2 separate regions of the Homo sapiens genome follow, and region 1 is linked to region 2. The links are contacts of gene promoters, found by promoter capture Hi-C in human tissues and cell types (Jung and others, 2019). All regions are on one chromosome and are shown on one strand. The core of a region is centred on a gene start or on the middle of the fragment in contact, and the rest is flanking DNA. Distances in the headings are between cores, read along the strand shown. Region 1 overlaps LNP1 (leukemia NUP98 fusion partner 1). Region 2 holds the start of PCNP (PEST proteolytic signal containing nuclear protein).

Region 1 (6,596 bases), core at 472-2,971, 1.1 Mb before region 2:
AAATTAATAGCAGTGAGCTATCCCATAAGGGGTCAAGAGCCCTATCTGTCAGGAGTGGATGGAGGGGTCCCACTCTCTGTGATGTGCTCTCCCCTAGCTTGCAGCTTTTGACAGGGTTCTTGGGATTCATCATTTCTGGTGCAACTAGTTCGGTTTCAAATGGTCCTATCAAAGAGCAAGCCCTTTCCCGTAGGCATCTGCAAGTGATCCATGTGATTCGGATAGCAGAGTTTATGGCCCCACAGAGGAGTGTTGTAAACAAACCTGCAATAGTCCCCGAGGCTGAATTATGTTCCTTGAGCCTACGCCTGTCTTCAGAGATTGGAACAATCCCTCACAGACAGTATCAAGCTTAGCATAAGCTCCAGGCAATTAGGATCTATGAATTCAGGATTCCAAACTAGCTAGCAACTTTTCCTCTATAGCAGCAGCAAAGCCAAGAAGATACAGGGCCAAACGGCTTTGTTCCAAGTCCAATTGACAAGAAATGTTTTCTAAGCCCTGTTTACACGGTCAGATTTAGAGTCCAATTGACCCACTCCAAAATATGCACGTTAGGCTGGAAAATCATTAGCCTCTAAGGGTCAGACAGACACCTGATTATATAAGAACTTATTAGCAAACTAAAAACTGCTTTTTAAAATTCAAAAGGTGTTTTTTCCAGTGGAGATGAGCTATGCTTCTATGTTGTCTACCTTTTCCCATAGGCTCCAACAGGCAAAAATTATAGCAAAAATAATCAGTTATGGAGATTTCAGTACTTAAATACTCAGAGTTTACATTGTAATTCATCTAGTAGCAACAAAAATCAAGAGGTGCATATTCTTCTAATACTTCTTATAGAGTAGCTTTCCCTAACTGGGGTAATCCCTCAAGCATTTATGAAAGTATAAGCATATAATATTTTACATCAGTTTTTATCATATATTCAGGTGCTATAGACACAGAATAGAAGCCATTTTAAAAAATCTCTCTTTTTTTCATTGCAGGTTTACTCAAACTCCTAGTAGTAAAGTGGTAAATTCAGCGTATATGATTCACATTATACCTGGTGAGAGATTCCCAGTTGGAATGCAAGGGGCTGCTGTATGAGGCGATGGGGTATTATTTCCCCCCTCCCCTTTCTTGCTGGTTTATCTAAAGCCTTGTTCTAGCTCTTGGAACTGACTTAACAAAAACGTTAAAAGTTTGCATTGCTTTCTCTTCCTTCCCACTTGGAGGAGAAAGCAATGCAAACTTTTAACATTTTTGGCCCATGCAAAATGTGTTTTGGGAATGTTTGGGCCCTTTCTCTTCTCATCTAGAGGAGAGAACAAAACCCAAAGGCATCAGCCAGGCTGCACTTTTTAATCCCTTCATTTTAGCTACCCGTGGCCAAAAGCAGCCAAGGAATCTAATGAACCAATTGTCCTGGGGTTGGATCTGTCATTTTGAATTCTGTAGGTAACTTTTACCTCTCACAACAGACATCATCTCAGCAGCTGATTCATACTATAGATGGCTAGGTAGCCACTGGGCATTGAAGGTTCACCATCATGTCTTCTTCATCCTTCCTTTTCCCAAACCCTGCTTTAGCCATAGTTCAGTGGTTTGGGTTGTTTTTTTAGCAAATCCCACTTCTGATAGTAGCTGTCATCCCCAGTTTGGGGATTTGCTAGAACTCAGCATATAGTTGTACTCATGGATAAGATTTATTATGTTGAAAGGATACAAGGTAAAACTGAGAAAGAAAATGGAAAAGGCATATGGGGTACAGTCTGGAGGAAATTAGGCACACTCTTCCAAAAAGTCTTGTTCCAGTGAAGTCCCACAGGATGTGCTTAATTCCTCCAGCAATGAGTTGTGATAACACAGGAAGTCTTGGCCATTTGCAAAAAATAAAAATGTTAGAAGATATGTTAAGCTTTGGCTACTTTTCCTTAGTAACATAAAAGTTGTGATGCCATGCTCTGTAAACATTGGTCATAGTTATCAAGCTTATCTTTTTGCAGCTCAAGGAAGGATTTTCGTAGGGCAAATGGCCAAGAATTCCTGATTGAAAATGCGAGACTTCTCCAAGTTCTCTTGAAATACTGGCAGGATGGTGGAAAGAGCCTGGACTTTGTTTTTCTATTCCCCGCTTCAAACTTGATTTTGCCGCTTAGTATTAATTTCACTTTGGCAAGGGGTGATCTATTTGCATCTCAACTTCCTTATCAGTAAAATGTCATACAAATCTCCCAGTCACAGGGTTGTTATAAGAAAATTAGCATATATGGGATCTGGCGTGGTGGCTCACGCGTGTAATCCCAGCACTTTGGGAGGCTGAGACAGGCAGATCACGAGGTCAAGAGTTTGAGACAAGCCTGGCCAACATGGTGAAACCCCATCTCTACTTAAAATACAAAAATTAGCTGGGCTTGGTGGTGGGTGCCCGTAATCCCAGCTACTTGGGAGCCTGAGGCAGGAGAATCATTTGAACCTGGGAAGTGGGGGTTGCAGTGAGCTGAGATCATGCCATTGTACTCCAGCCTGGGCAACAGGACGAGACTCCATCTCAAAAAAAAAAAAAGAAAAAAAGAAAATTAGCGTATATGGAATACTTGGCTCCATACTTGATGCAAAGTAGGAGTTCCATAAATGTAATATTCTCTTTACTTTGAAAAAAATGCCCACTAAAAGACAGGGACTATAAAATTTATATAAACTTTATAAAAGCCCCAACTAGAAGTAACCTAAATGACAGCCTAAAATGACCATCACTAGTAGACTGAATTTTTAAAAAATTGTGACATGTTGATGCAATGCAATACTACACACAGCGTCAACTATTGTTACTGCAAAAACATGGATATATCTCACTGACATCATGTTGAATAACACAGGATAATGCATACTGTATAATGCCATTGAAAGTAAGTTCAAAAACAAGCAAATTAATCTATGGTGACACAGATCATTAATGGTAAACTTTTGAAGGGAGTATGGATTGGAAGGGGGATACATGGAGCCAGTTGGGGTGCTGGCAATGTTTTATGTCTTTACCTGCATGGTGGTGGTAACACAGGGGTATATGTATATAAAAATTCATCAAGCTGTGCACTTATGATTTGTACATTTTACACGTACTTGTATATTATTTACATGTGTACATATATAAGTAATACCTCAATTTAAAAAACTACTCCTTTTGATCTAGGAGCTGGATTTTATATCAATATCATTTTATTAGGAGAGTATCTAGCTCCAGATATGACATGGCAACAGCTGGCTACCTTGCAAGCTGTGGTCAGTCTGTTCCTTGTATGTGGCCCCATTTCAGAGCTTGCCTGGAGCTGACAGGCATATTGTGAGGGTCATGCTCCATCATCATTGACAGCTGGAGATGCCATCACATGTCATTGGCAGCAAAGCACAGGGAAAACCAGGCAGTGGACTCTGCATCCCACCCTTAGGCTGTGAGGCACAAGCCCCAGCAATGGAAGGATTAGAAAGCCTCTCAATTTAAAAAGACAAGGGGAGGGGAATGTGGGCTGCACAATTTATAAATAGACATTGCCCAAGGCTGCCTGATGATGAAGTGGTTGTTTAGTAAATCTTTCTCCTTTAAGGATGCCAGTATCGGAGACCATTTTAAAAAGACCAGTTTCATTTTGTCTTTTGGGAGAGATCCTGGGTTTCATTGTCAGCCCTGTTGGGTGATATTTCCCTCTGTCGCATTTAGGGACAGGCCTTCAGTATTTGGCATCACCTTTACATGGAGCACAAAGATGATGATGATGATGATGTGTCTTTTGCCAAATGGATGAGCAGCTTCTGGGGCCACAGCTGGAGAGAGGAGGATCAGAGAGGACTCCGGGAACGCCACCGACTGCAAGCCACCAGTCACAGGAAAACCTCCCTGCCCTGCCCAGTGAGTGATTGTCATGGAACCGGAGGGGAGAGCTGGAATAGGGGAGGGGGTTTCTCTTAGATAATTTTTTGAGGAATCTTTGGATATAAAGTTTTCTTTGGTTTAAAACCAGTACTTCTGAGTCTTTCTCATACCCACAGAAATCTCTCTTATTATTTCATCTTGTCTTTCAAGGGACCTTATTGTCATCTAATGGGTAATGATTTCTTCATTTTTAGTTGTCTGAGATATCTTTAACTACTCTTCAGAGCTCCTGATAAGCCTGAGATAATCCCACTGAGTGACGGAATTTAAGCCAAAGGAAAGAAACTTGATGCTATACTTAGTCTGTGTAGCCTTGTGGCTCAATGTGTGATTTCCGTTTGAAATACTGAAAATTGTTCCACTCTTTGGTAGACCTTCTAAGGAACTGGGGATCCCACATGACAAGTCACTACCTTTGAGAAATTTGACATACTTGTTTTTCTTCCAGGGAGTCCATTTGGTTTCTAGATGGGAGAGGGAGCTAAAACTCTCCTGCCCTCAGCACTGTTTTGTTACAGCTAGGCAGAGCACCTGATATCTGAGGAACAAGATGCTAGCAGGAAAGCTCCCAAGAGGGGAATGGGTGGGCTTGGTCAGCTGTAGACTCAGTGACATGTACAGGCGGCTATTCTCTCTGCTCTACTGGCATGCTAGAAGGCTCCACAGTAGACATGTGTGTCCTGTGCTTCACAGTTACACAGCAATAATACAGCTTTTCTTTTTTATAAGTCCCATTAAATGTCAGCTACCAGAGGATAGTTTCTCAATCCCCTGCTGTTGCCAACCCCGGAACCAAGTAAGTTTTGTTTGGGGTAATATTATTTTATTTTTAACTTCAGGCTTCCCAGACACATAATGTCTATAAGACATATGAAAGTGTGTAAGGCAACCTCTATTACTCCTGGTGATCAGCAAGTTTGAGGAAAGAGAATTCTTTGAGACACAAATATTTCAAAATATATCCCTTGCCAAATGCATACTCAGGGACAAAGGGCAATCGTCAACCCTTCTTTCAGCTTCAGGTTGCTAAAGTGAAAAAGATGGGGGTGTTGGACTGAGTGATCTCTAAGAACCCTTCTACCTCTAACCTTCCATGTTCTGTTATAAAATAAACACCTGCTTATTGCCTCTCATTTTAATATATATTCCACAATGAGCAAAATATCCAGGCTGTGTGAACCAGGAGTATGATTAGTTTCCAGTTTCCAGATGTGAGAACAGGGATAAACAAAAACAAAAACTGTAATTTACTATTTATGACAATGGCCTCTTGAAGCCACAGGAAATATGAAAACATAGAAAGAAACATGGTTTACTAGTTCCTTGAATAAACTTTAGCATCTATGGAGCTTTTAAAACAGAGATAGTTACCCCATTTACAGAATTCACTTTTAGGTTACAATGGTGTTTGCCTTAATCTATGGAATCACAGCATCTATTATGTATAACATTTGTAAACTGTGTCCTTATGACATCTTTATCTGCTTATCCCTGCTTCGGGCATTTGCCTGAATTAACCTGTTTAGATTCTCTGAGTCAGCAATGAATTCCGTAATTATTAGACTAACATGCAGAATAAAAATTGCTGGATTAAAAAAGTTAAAAATATGACTGAATAGAATGGAGAAACAATAAGCATAGATCACAAATCAGAGGAACCAGAGGTCAATGGGCAGAGTACTGGAAAGTAGTTGGGGAGTCTAATTCTTCATTCTTTGTCTACATAATGCTGTATATGTATAAGTGAATCTATACTTGAATACTTTCTATCTCTAAAATGTAATCAAATATTCTTACTTTTGGCGTGGTGCCATGGTTCACACCTGGAATCCCAGCACTGTGGGGGCCCAAGGCGGGAGGATCACTTGAACTAAGGAGTTTGAGACCAGCCTGGGCAACATAGTGAGACTCCGTCTCTCAAAAAAAAAAAAAAAAAAAATAGCAGGGTGTGGTGGTGCTTCCATAGTCCCAGCTACTTGGAAGGCTGAGGTGGGAAGATCACTTGAGCCCAAGAGGTCGAGGCTGCAGTGAACGGTGAACATGCCACTGCTTTCCAACCTGGGTAACAGAATGAGACCTTGTTTATATATATATATATATATATATATATATATATATATATATATATATATATATATATATATTCTTATTTTAAGGAACAATTTGGTTTTCAATTTTTTGTCTGCTTTGAGCTAATGGAAATACCTTAAAGAGAAAAGCTTACTCTTATCCTTACTTTTTTTCTTCTCTCCTGACTGCTCTAAGGCCCTTCCCTCTCTCAACCTTTTAATAATCTATAACCATCAATATTACATTAAGTATTATATGCATAGGAGGAGAAGAGCTTTCCCCCTTGCCTACTTTGAATGTGGTTTCTTTTTTTCCCCACTTCTCCTTGAATGTAGTTTCTAATACATCTTCATCAGTCTCATGATTCACACAAAACCACAGTGATCAACATTAATTAATTTAACATATTTATTGAACACCTACTGTGAGCCAAACATTGTCCGAGTATCACAGGGTGAAAGAAGACATGCCCAGTCCCCACACTTGTGGGACTGTCAGTCTAGTAGAAAATACAAATTTGGCAGAAAGAATTAGGTACAACAAAGGGTAAAGCTTAGGCCTTTTTATAGAATGCTACTTTTTCCCCAGACTCATTAGAACCTATGTTTGC
Region 2 (6,640 bases), core at 3,567-6,066:
CTCATACCTGTACTCCCAGTACTTTGGGAGGCCAAGGCAGGTGGATCCCTTGAGTCCAGGAGTTTGAGACCAGCCTGGGCAACATTGTGAAACCCTGTCTCTACAAAACTTAGCCAGGGATGGTGGTGTTCACCTTTAGTCCCAGCTACTTGGCGGGCTAAGCCAGGAGGATCGTTTGAGCGTGTGATGTGGAGGTTGCAGTGAGCCAAGATCATGTCATTGCATTCCAGGTTGGGTAACAGAGCAAGACCCTGTCTCAAAAGATAAAAAAAAGAATGGACAGAGATATAGGAGACAGAGTATGAACAATCTTTTCAAAGTTTCTATATGAAGGAAAATAGGAATGAGGAGCTACAGGAAGATATGAGATCAAGAGAAGAGTCTTTTACTAAGATAGGAGACATAAAAGCATGTATGTATGATGTTGGGAATGTTTCAATAGTAGAAAGAAAAATCGGATGGAACAATAGTGATGTGTGTAAACAAGGACAGGCTCCACTTCATAAGTAACAGAACACATAGTATATAGGTATAAATGCAGGTACCACACCTCAGATATGGTTGAGAATATATAGAAGTTCTGTTTGATTACTATTATTTTCTCACTGAAAATAAAAAGCAAAATCATCCCAAGTGGGAGGACGTAATGGACATTTTTGGAGAGCCAACAAAACATGAAATAGTATAGGAAAGTGAGTGAATTAGGGCAGTGGTTCTCAAAGTGTGGTTCCCCAACGAGCAGCATCAGCATTACTTGGGAACTAGTTAGAAATGCAAATTTTAGGGCTCCAGCCATTGAGTCAACTGAATCAGAAACTGGCAATGGGGCCCAGCAATCTGTTTTAACATGTCCTTCAGGTGATTCTGATGTACACTGAAATTGAGAATAGTCTGAGGACATGTAATAGAATTATAAGGCTACATTAAGAACCTACTTAATGGCTCATGCCTGTAATCCGAGAATTTTGGGAGGCTAAGGCAGGAGGATCACTTCAGCCCAGGAGTTCAAGGCTGCAGTGAGCTATGAGCCACTGTACTCTAACCTGGGCAACAGAACGAGATCCTGTCTCAAAACAAAAACAAAAACAAAACAAAAAAAAGAACCTACTTAAGGTTAGTGAAATCAAGATTAGCCACTTTTCTTCTCCACTCTAATTTTTTTTTTTTTTTTTTTGGTAGCTCTTGGCCTGAATTTCAAGTTCAGCTCCACTTCTTACTTATCTTTTCCGTGCCCAAATTCCCTCTTCCATAAAAATGGGAGTAACAGTAGCACTTAATTCACAGGGTTGTAATGATTTAATGTACTGAATTTCATGTAGAATACCTGCAACAATGCTTGGTGTATAGTAAGCTTGAATAAATGTTAGATATTATAGTTGTCGCCTCACAAATTACACATCTAAATTAAAATAATAATTGCTCATATTACCTTCCATTTCCAGCCTTTTAAACCACTTAAATAGCTCACTAGAGGTTATAATCCATAGCTACTATGAAGCAAGCTCTCACCATGGCCAGGCAGCATATTATAGATTTAACCTTTATTATCCCAATGCCCTCAGTAACCCTATATGTATTATTCCATTTGTATAGTTATAACATATTCCATAACATTGTTATCCAGTACAAACTCACAGAATTAGCAAAATGCAGAATTAGAATTTAAGTCGAGTTTTTGTGTGGTGCAAAACTAATGCTCTTTGCCTTGGACTACATTGCCTATTCATTGTCAGAAAACGGTACCCCAAAATTTGGTGCTTTGACATGCTGAACTAGAGAAGCAGCCGCAAGGTTTCTCTGATCTCCCCACCCCACCTCCTGCCTCTCAATCCTCTGCCTCCCCCAAAACACGGGATAAGACTGTTCTTTGAAGTTTCTTATCTACCTAGAAACCACACACATCAAAGAACACAATTGCTTTCTATCTGCTTCCTCCCTGAAATTTCATTAACCAGAAGAAATTAAAACATATCACAAAGCCAGATACAGTGGTGCACACATGTAGTCCCAGCTACCTGTGAGTCTCAGATGGGAGGATTCTTGAGGCCAGGAGTTTGAGGCTGTAGTGTGCTATCATCATGCCTGTGAATAGCCACCACACTCCAGCCTGGGCAACACAGTGCGACCTGGTCTCATAAAAAAACAAAACTCACATCATAGAGGAAGAGACTGAAAATTAACCACCACACTTAGAGCCCAAACTTTGCCTCAAACTACTGTTTTTTGTTTTTGAGACAGGGTCTCACTCTGTCACCCAGGTTGGAGTGCAGTGGCGAGATCTTGGCTCACTGCAACCTTGCCTCCGGGGCTCAAGTGATCCTTCTATCTCAGCCTCCCTAGTAGCTGGGATTATGGGAGTGAGTCACCACGACTGGCCTTCGAATTATTATTGGTTCTCTAGTTTCACTTGGTTTACAAAGAGAATAATTTACAAGTGAATTTCTGCATTAATCTCTCCTAAAATCATTTACTACTCCTCTAAAATTGCCTGTAGCCCCCCCACCTCTCTCTCCCCTATGAAAAGTATTAAACTTCAACCATCTGACCCTTTTTTTAGTTTTCTTATTTTGTTGTATCATTCCCATGCTTATGCACATTAATTTTCTCTTGTTAACCTGTCTTTTATTAACAAGCATGTTGTCATGACTCTTTTGATGGGGAGGAAAGTGATCACCCCCTTTCCACCCCTTCATACTACACTACCTTTCCATTTCCTAACCCGTTTGTAGGAGGTTACTGAAGCTTGCATTAATTTCTTCAATAGATATTTATCCAGACTAGTATAATCCAGGTGCTGGGGAAACAGTGGTGAACAAGACAGGCACACCTCATGAAACTCACAGAACTGAAAGGTGAATGGATTACTATCTTCATCCTTTTTTTGTTTCGTTTTTTTCCTTTCATACCTAGTCCTGCACATGCATCCTTAACTTCTGCAGTGTGGTATATGGGAACTGGATCCGCTCCTAAATAGGTATGTGACTTCTCTGAGCTTTATCTTCTTCACTTAAAAATTACAAGCATCGGCCGGGCACGGTGGCTCACGCCTGTAATCCCAGCACTTAGGGAGGCTAAGGTGGGCGGATCACAAAGTCAGGAGTTCGAGACCAGCCTGGCCAACATAGTGAAACCCCGTCTCTACTAAAAATACAAACATTAGCCGGGTGTGGTGGCACGCGCCTGTTGTCCCAGCTACTCGAGAGGCTGAGGCAGGAGAATCGCTTGAACCCAGGAGGCGGAGGTTGCAGTGAGCCAAGACCATGCCATTGCACTCCAGCCTGGGTGACAGAATGAGAGACTCCATTCCACCCCCCATAAAAAATTACAAGCATCTGTAAATACATAATCTCAAATAAAAATCTTCGTGTATATCTCCATTTTTAAAATGATAGAAACGAGAGTCTCAATGATTACCTTGAAAAGATCACAAGGAAAATGAAACAAACATGAATTAAGTACCTGTAAGATAGTTTGCTGGTTACTTTTACATATATGATAAATGATGGATCAGGGACTTCAACCTAGATCACAAAATCACCACCACACTGCCCTGCTTCTGTCATGGGAAACACACTTTGATAATTTCTTCATTCTTTCTCCACTCCCTGGACTTGAAGCCCGAGAAGTAATCCATCCGCAAATATTGAACACTTTTTATATTCATATATGAAACGCACAGTACACAGTTTTTAAAAACTGGTCTCTGTTGTCAAGGAACTTTTGAGCCATTCAGAGAGACAACACTTAAAACACACACACACACACACACACACACAAACTGAGGGAAGTATGAAGTGACCAAATAATGGTATACAAAGATGATCTCATTTGATCCCTATTACCACTCTTTGAGGAGGTACTATTATTATTGCTCTTTTATAGAGAAGAAAAGGTAGCTCTGTAGGCAGTAAGCAAGTCTCAAGGTTACTCAAGCAGGAAAGGGCAAAACAGATTCAAATCCAAGTTCTGACTCCTAAGACTTTCTCTAACTATATATGGTAAGACAAACCCAGAAACTCCAGTTCCCTAAGCAAGTAATAGACCCCATTTGGCTAGGAGGGCTGGATAAATACTGAGAAAGGGGGAAGATGAAGCCGAAAAGGTAGGCTAGGGCCTAATGTAACTCACGGACTTCAGAATGCAGACTGTAGGAATCCACTAAAGGTTTCTTATTAAGGCAGAAATTACTGCAGTCTTAACTTGACATAGTAGTTTCTCAACTTGGTAGAAGCAGACTATACAAAAAGTAACTTTACAGTTGGCTACGTGACTTAGACAAATTACTCTCTCTGACCTCAACTCTTACAGGTAATTGAGAGGAGAATTCTATATTTGGACAATCGCCGTGATTAAACGAGTGTATGAAAGGCGTCTGAAGCTAGGGGGCGCTAGATAAACACTGATTTCCCCTTTAGGGAAAAAGAATGCAGGCTTTTTGTTTACATAGAGTTGGCAGGCATGCGTTATCCAGCAAGGCCGGAACGGAAGACACTCTCAGCCTCAGCTGCAACCACATCTGGGTATGCAGAAACCTTCTAAGATCCCAGCGTTTCCAGGGAGATGCTCCATTTCCCCTCACTTCTCCGGACCTGTCGCTAGACCATGAAGACCTGACTGCCCTCTAATAAAGTGCCTAGCCAGCACTCTTAGACCGCCCAACCTTCCCAGCTCTTCCTTCCGAGGCGGCTACTCGATGACATCACATCCACTTCCGCTTCCGAAGGCGGCCTCTTTTCATTCCTCGGGACCGCTCTAGGCTGCCACCACGCCGGCTGGCCCCAAAAACTCGATGGTTGTTGGGCGGGGTCGTGACGTCCTTGGCGTGGCTGCAGGGGAGGCCGCGGCGGGGAAAATGGCGGACGGGAAGGCGGGAGACGAGAAGCCTGAAAAGTCGCAGCGAGCTGGAGCCGCCGGAGGTGAACACAACCCCAGCGTCGTGGGCAGCGTGGGATGCTCCGGGCCTTTCTTTGAGCTCCCAGGGTGGGGGGAGTGGGGTGGGGCGAGAATGGGCGGATCTGGACCTCACCCGGCCAGGTGTTGGGCCCAGACCTGCCTCGGGCACGCCCGATGCGGCCCTCTGGGCTCCGGGCCTACATCGCCTCCTTGCCTGGGGAGAGCCGGCCACTGTTCGTCACCTCCTGGCCCCAGCGGAGGCCCTGATTCCGAGGAGAAGGGAGATGGGCGCCAGAAAGGGAGACCGAACTCGGGGTGGGACCAGGAGCGGCGGTGCAGGAGCCGCTACCGCCACACCGGAGACGCACATCACACAAAACACACACACCGGAGACGCTCATGAGACATAACATACACACAGTGCGAGCCACCGAGTAGTTGCCGCGGGAACTGGCCGCAGGCTGAGTTTCTGACGGTGCCGGCCTCTCAGTTACACGCAGGAGTTAATTACGCTTGCTGCTCCCTTTTCACTGAGGAGGTGGACAACTCCGGCCTGCTCTCTTTCCTTTACTTCCAAGTTTAATATTGACCCTGTGACAGGATGGGCCGAGGTGATGGAGGGGAAGAGGAATGCCTTTGCCTGCCCTCTGGTTTAAGCTGCGGGGTCTAGGGCTAAGGTTTGGTTGCTTTTCTTTGAAGTATCTCCCTTAGGCTGTTGCCAGCTGACCGCTTGCCAGATACTTAGGCGACTAAATAGTCTAGCGTGACTCTTCCTGTATTTTGTTACGACGTTAAACTCAGGTTACAGCTATCCTTATTCTGTCCATTCCACTCCCTAAATTCGGGTCTTGTGCGTGAAGGAAAAGAAACGTAATCTCTCCAGCTCCCTCTTTGCACATAACAAGACAAGTGACTTAACACGTGCGAGCTGTTTAAAATGTTTTTAGAACATTTTAAACATTATTCTCTATTCTGACCACCTTAGTTATCATTCCCGAAATTATTTAATATGAGAAAATAGAAACGATTAATAGCATATGAAGGCCACTAGTAGACCTACTAACATAATGTTTCATGTTAATTGCCTTGGGAACAAAAATTATTGAAAAGATTAAGTGTAATGTTAATTACTTTGGACCCAGGATTTCCTTTTTAAAAAACACGTACAATTCTGTTAGTTAAGCTGGAACTCCATCTCTCTCTTCCCTCCCCACCCCCTGTCTTTTTTTTTTTTTATAACTAGTAAAATACCTTATGAAAGAACAATTTAAATTTAAACCATCTACTACTTTCTCACTAGGGAATTTTTTTTCCCAAAAAAATTGTATTGGAAATTGTGGGATAAAATTACATAAAAGTTTAAAAGTAGTTTGAGGAAAAGCAAAAAATTTTAGACGTAGTTTGAGGAAAAGCCTAAAGAATCATGTGTTGATTTTAAGGCCATCTCGTTAACTGTCTTGACCGAGGGTAGCAGACGTGTTTAATGTGCTGTCAAAATGTACCTTGAGTGTCATTATAAATCCACTGTATAATTTACCTGCCATTCTTTCAGTTGAGGGTTATTAGTTCTATAGTATGAATATTGATGTTTCCATTTTAGCATGTGGGGAGAAGTAGTAGAGAATTACTTTGCTAATTGGTATCAGAAAAATTATTATGGTCTTTTTCTTGGTAACTTAGAGTAAGTAAATATCCCTTAACTTCTACATAATTTGTCTCCTTGCCGTTACAAGAAAGTAGTGCTGTT

Evidence for each region. The method cuts DNA at HindIII sites, captures the fragments that hold promoters and counts their contacts. A contact is called where the count stands out against the background at its distance.
Region 1: a fragment that was not itself captured here is called in contact with the fragment with the promoter of PCNP in region 2 in 1 of the 25 tissues and cell types used here (bladder).

What each region holds. Positions count from the first base shown.
Region 1 is chr3:100,425,994-100,432,589 of GRCh38, forward strand. It overlaps LNP1 (leukemia NUP98 fusion partner 1), which reads left to right. Exons shown (of 4, transcript NM_001085451.2): 2 at 3,704-3,892. The coding sequence starts at 3,737. Among named protein-coding and RNA genes, the nearest start is that of LNP1, 28 kb to the left of the region's middle. The HindIII fragment of the contact is 4,668 bases long and covers 1-4,055 here.
Region 2 is chr3:101,569,364-101,576,003 of GRCh38, forward strand. PCNP (PEST proteolytic signal containing nuclear protein) reads left to right here and starts at 4,817. Exons shown (of 5, transcript NM_020357.3): 1 at 4,817-4,916. The coding sequence starts at 4,853. RefSeq lists enhancers at 4,028-4,973, 4,417-4,686, 4,787-4,916, 4,997-5,156, 5,177-5,336. The HindIII fragment of the contact is 9,941 bases long and covers 2,047-6,640 here.